2 separate regions of the Homo sapiens genome follow, and region 1 is linked to region 2. Evidence: promoter capture Hi-C in 16 types of primary human blood cells and fetal thymus (Javierre and others, 2016). All regions are on one chromosome and are shown on one strand. The core of a region is centred on a gene start or on the middle of the fragment in contact, and the rest is flanking DNA. Distances in the headings are between cores, read along the strand shown.

Region 1 (2,742 bases), core at 127-2,626, 300 kb before region 2:
CCCCAACCATTATGAGTCAGCAGTTGTTAACATCCTGCCATATTTGCCTTATCTGTATGCTTATGTAAATATATTTCCTCCTGAATTATGTCTGGTACTAACTCCTGCTAAGTTAGTGGCAGACATGATAGCACTTCACCCCTAAATACCTAAGCTTGAATCTTCTCAAAATTAGAGCATTTGGGGTCATTTTTAATTTACCTTCTTTGGCCCTCATTCTAACTTGTCATCAGTTCTTTGAGAGGCCTCTTGCATCCTGTGCCTGCATTTCCCTTTCACAACCCTGGTTTGCTCTCTGCTTGCCTCATGCCTGCACTGTGTAGCCTTCTCCCTGGTCTCCCTGCCTCTAGTCCTCCTTCAACCAGTGAACAGCGCTGCCGCCAACTGACCTCCAAAGGGCTGACCTCCCAAGTGATCGCCTGGATTGTGTCAGGACCCAGCCTCTGATCATGCCTTGGTTGTCATTCAGGGCCCCTCACCTACACATCCTGCTCTATCTCCTGCCTCTTCAGTTGATTCCAGCCAATCTGACTGCTTTTCCCCAACTCAATTGTGCCGTTCCCTTCCTCTCATGCCCCATGGCACACCCACATTCTCTCCTGGATGGGAAGCTCCTTGAGAAACAGAGACAGCAAATCCTAAAGCTTGTGTGCTATCACGCACATGCAGACTCTTGGGAAACATCTTCATGAATGACCAGTTTGCTCCCTCCCACTTACTACAAATAGTATTCTTAGTCTTCTTCCAGATGCCCTGTGGTCTGTGCTGGAGCTGTATGGGCCCCTTACTAGACCACTCTGTCTCCCACCCCCCGTACTAGGTGTGTTGACCATGTACAGTAATTTATTGCCCAAGTTGGGTTCTTTTGAGAGTACTATGAATAATTACTCCAGGACTGGGACGTATGGGCATCCTAATACTAGGAAGAGCAGATTAATCAGAATACACCATATTGTAGTTACTACTTTGGCAACTTCCGTCGCGGGCTCCCCAGGCAGACTACGTGCATTGTGGACTAGGCTAGAGCTAGCTAGAGCTGGTGTCACCTGTGGTCGAAATGAAGCTGCTTCTGGCTGCATTTCCCCTGTAAGAACCCCGCCTAAAGCACTTGACAAATGGCAGATTCCACACACGTGGGTTTCCTGAATGGTTATCAGCACCCAGTCCTCACCTTAGGAGGATGGCTAAGTACGAACGAGGCTCTCTATTGGAAAAAGAATGCCCCACCCGACTGCAAATGAATCAGGAACGCAGCTTAGGCTATGCACTCTGCCTGCACCAAGACCCTTGGGGGCGGGGCCTGGAGTTGCAGTGGCTATGCCAGGCCTATTACTTTGAAGGAGTCAGGAACCATCTATTGAAAGTAGATATAACCACCCCTGTTTATCAGTGGAGGGGGAGGGGGAAGTGAAGAGAGCATGAATAAATGGATTCTAATCCAGCACTTTTCCAAGGTGAATGCCACATGCCATCACCTAGGGTCTCCTAATGCAAATTGTCCTAATTCCATTGGGCTGAAGAATCTGCGTGTCTAACAAACTCCCAGTGACATTGATGCTGCTGGCTGGGACTGTCTTTTGAATTGCACTTATATGGGCCCTTCCAAACCTCGTTGATGTCAATGGGTTCAGTTTTAGTACGTCTTTGGTTCGAGGCTTTTTCTCTCCCCTCTGCTTATTCTTCTAGTGCCAGTGTTAATGAACCGGGAATTGTCCAAAGGTGGGCTGCAGGAGGGGCAGGAAAGGGATGAGGCGGACTCATCATCCGCCAGTGCTTTAGTGTTAGAAAGGCTTGCCTCTTTCTTCCTCCCCATTGCTTGCTGGTGGTTATTATTAATGCACTGCTGTTGCTAAGAAGTTTCATTTGATTTCATTTCATTTTAGGATGTAAATATGGTAGTTGTTTTGAGTATAACACACCCAATCCAAGAGGAGAATGATTATTCAGCATTTTAATGAAATTGCTGTCTTTTATCCAGCCAGTGTCAATGGATTCCTGCTGTGAGCCAGGCATGTTAACTCACACTTTACCTGTGTCATCTCACTTCCCTTAAAGTGGCCAGTGCCCCATTTTAGAAAAGGAAAGACTGAAACCCAGAGAAAGCTTATAACTCACCAAGGCCACATAGCAAGTGGGAGGCCAACCCAAATTCAAACTTAGGCCAGTTTGTGCTGCCCGAATGCAGGTTCTCTTCACTGACTACACGGGTGCCCCCTGCACTGTGCTGGGTGCTGTGGGGAGAGAGATACCCCCACACAGGCCCTGCCCTCTAGATAAGGGGCCAGCCAAACTTTCTGTAAAGGGCCAGATGATAAATGTCCTAGTGTTGCAGGCTATACTGTCTCCTTCACAACAACTCAGCTTTGCCATTATAGCACAAAAGCATTCAGAGGCAGTAAGCAAATGAATGGGCATGGTCATGTTCCAATAAAATTTTAAGAAACAGGCAGTAGGCTGGACATGACCTGCAGGCTGTAGTTTTCCCACCTCTGCTCTGGAAGGATCCTGAAAAATAGAGATACAATGTGAGCCACAGCTGAAAAAAGTAAATAGAGGCCAGGCATGGTGGCTCATGGCTATAATCCCAACACTTTGGGAGGCCAAGCCAGGCGGATCACTTGAGGCCAGGAGTTCGAGACCAGCCTGGGCAACATGATGAAACCCCATCTCTTCAAAAAGTACAGAAATCATCTTAGCGTGGCAGCTTACGCCTGTAGTCCCAACTACTCAGTAGGCTGAGGT
Region 2 (2,700 bases), core at 47-2,546:
GTGTGTCTGCCGCCTCTGTGGATGTAAGCGGCAGGTGGCATCGGAAAGTCAGACCTGCCTGGGACACCAGAGAAAGACCCTAAGAGTCGGGGGAGAGGGAAAGGCTGCAGAAACATGAGAAAGTGCCACTCGTAGCGGAGAGGAAAGAAAACCTCAAGGATACGGTTCCCGAGCCTGAGCCCGCTCCCAGCCTTAGCCCCCCAACCCCAGGCTCCGTCCCAGGAGCAGTCGACGCCTCAAAGCGTACGGGACAGGAAGGGGGTGGGGGCGAGAGTCTTGGTTCCCCAGAACGAACGGATCCATAGCGGTTCCCGGTGCCGCAGGCCGCGCGCTTCTCCGACCCCAGCGCGGGGCCCTCGGGCGGGAATGAGCCGAGCCGGGACTTAGCGGCGGGTAGGGGGTTGGGTGGCGCGGGAGAGGGCGGCAGAAGGAGGGAGTTCGAAGAGAGTTGCCGCCAGGGAGAGTGGCAAGTGCCCGCGGTCTCCTTGGAGACGTGCTGGCCAATGGCAGAGGCGGAAGCTGTTTATGGGGGCGGAGCGTCGCCATGGCAGCAGGAGAAGCCTTTGGAGCGGCTACTTAATGCCGGTCCCGGGGCCGCGGTAGCTCAGAGAAGCGCCGTCGGGCGGGGGGGCGGCAAGAGGCGCTGGCAGGGCCCCCGAGCTGGGGGCAGAGAGCCGCAGGGGGTGGGAGCAACTTCTTCCAGAACCTTCCTCTGGCCCGGGCTGCGCTCTGAGCCAGGTAAGGGATGGGGAGGGCTGCAGGCCAGGGGGAAGGGTGGGCAACGGTACCAACCCGCTCTCTCATTCGTCCTTAACGGAAGTGGTGGGCCCAGGGACTGACATCGGAGAAGTCTGGGGGAAACTCGCCTCCTGCCCCCCGTTACTGTTCCGTCCCCTTCCTTCCCAATGATCCCCTATCATAATATTCCTTTTCAAGGATCAGAGGACCTCCACCGCCCCCGCCCCGTCGTACCGCCCTCCCAAACTTCTCGCCCCACTTCCATTTGTTGCGAGGAGGAAGGGGGTCCTGATTTCCTGCTCTTCGGGAGAAAAGGATAGCCTCGGATGCCCCTACCCTCTTCATTTGGCTAATAAAACCTCGAAGAGGAAAGGAAGAGGGAGGCAGATCTGATGGGGGTGGGACCCCAGGGCCTTGCTTCTGTTTCCCATACCTCGGCACTAAAAGATCCTCCCCAGCTGCGGGGATGATGTTAGAGAGGGCGTCCCCGTACACACACTGTCCCCTCGGGGGTGGGGTAGTGCTCAGCTCCCACCGTGGTCCTCGCAGGCACCACATACTTATTCGGAGGAGGCGCCCCCGGGGTCGCGAGATGGAAGCGCGCGTCCGGGAGGCCGTGTAACGGGAGCTGCGGGACTCAGCGGGCCAGAGAGCGCGGCGGGCCACCCCCGGCTCAGCCCGTGGATGCTGACCGCCCCCTCGGAGAGTCCCCGCAGACATGGCGGAGAGCTGGCTGCGCCTCTCGGGAGCCGGGCCGGCGGAGGAGGCCGGGCCGGAGGGCGGCCTGGAGGAGCCCGACGCCCTGGATGACAGCCTGACCAGCCTGCAGTGGCTGCAGGAATTCTCCATTCTCAACGCCAAGGCCCCCGCCCTGCCCCCGGGGGGCACCGACCCCCACGGCTACCACCAGGTGCCAGGTTCAGCGGCGCCCGGGTCCCCCCTGGCGGCCGACCCCGCCTGCCTGGGGCAGCCACACACGCCGGGCAAGCCCACGTCGTCGTGCACGTCGCGGAGCGCGCCCCCGGGGCTGCAGGCCCCACCCCCCGACGACGTGGACTACGCCACCAATCCGCACGTGAAGCCTCCCTACTCGTATGCCACGCTCATCTGCATGGCCATGCAGGCCAGCAAGGCCACCAAGATCACCCTGTCGGCCATCTACAAGTGGATCACGGACAACTTCTGCTACTTCCGCCACGCAGATCCCACCTGGCAGGTAGAGGAGGCACGGGCGGCGGCCGCTCCCTCCCCATTCCCTCCTCGCTCCCCACGCTGCACTGGATTCATATCCCAAATCTGCAGGCCAAGTAGGCTCTGCGGTGCGGCCAGCGCCCCAGAAGGGAGCCCTGCAAAGGAGCCCAGTTCTTGCAACTGCCCCTCCTTTGACTTCCAGAGAGAGAGAGAGAGAGAAGGGAGAATGTCCAGAGGTGGAGGGCTTTAGGGGTGCAGAGGCTGAGATTCAAGGGGAAATAACCTGCCATTCATCCAGCAGGCCCAGGCCAAAGACCAGGGCTAGACTCTGCGTGGACAGAATCTCCTTGGGGAGAGCGATGAACTGAAGGCGCATTCTTGTCCCAAGTCCTAGAATTCCTAGACACTGCCCTGCCCCGGGATGGTTTGTCGGGGCCGGGAGTCAGAAACGGAAACTGGAACGTGGCCTCCCTGCCAGGCTCTACGTCCTGCCCTTTTGCAGTTGGCTTGGGGAGGGTGGAATGGAAGGGGTGCCTTAGCATGTGAGGGCCAGGTGTGTCCCAATGGAGGGTGGAGGGGGTAAGGGGCCTTCCTAAAGCTGCTGTCCCAGCCCCCCACCTCAACCTCTGCTCAGTTTCCTGCCTCCAACCCCCGCTGTCAGCCAACCTCCCTGGGGGGACAATTACCTGAGCCAGGTGCCTTCCACTGGGGCTCTGCCTACCACACTCACTTCGTGTTCCACGTCTCTGGAACCAGGCACTGAGCAGCCAA

The links. The method cuts DNA at HindIII sites, captures the fragments that hold promoters and counts their contacts. A CHiCAGO score of 5 or more calls a contact.
Region 1: a fragment that was not itself captured here is called in contact with the fragment with the promoter of RNF157-AS1 in region 2 in 1 of 17 cell types (M1 macrophages); the score reaches 5.4 in M1 macrophages.

The regions. Positions count from the first base shown.
Region 1 is chr17:76,440,440-76,443,181 of GRCh38, reverse strand. The region is part of intron 1 of UBE2O (ubiquitin conjugating enzyme E2 O); the gene reads left to right. Among named protein-coding and RNA genes, the nearest start is that of UBE2O, 11 kb to the left of the region's middle. RefSeq lists enhancers at 70-189, 1,614-2,131. The HindIII fragment of the contact is 1,459 bases long and covers 647-2,105 here.
Region 2 is chr17:76,139,152-76,141,851 of GRCh38, reverse strand. RNF157-AS1 (RNF157 antisense RNA 1) reads right to left here and starts at 1,296. Exons shown (of 8, transcript NR_040017.1): 1 at 1,172-1,296. It overlaps FOXJ1 (forkhead box J1), which reads left to right and starts at 607. Exons shown (of 3, transcript NM_001454.4): 1 at 607-738; 2 at 1,288-1,954. The coding sequence starts at 1,457. RefSeq lists silencers at 612-771, 1,450-1,519, 1,580-1,769 and an enhancer at 2,181-2,700. The HindIII fragment of the contact is 14,991 bases long and covers 1-2,700 here.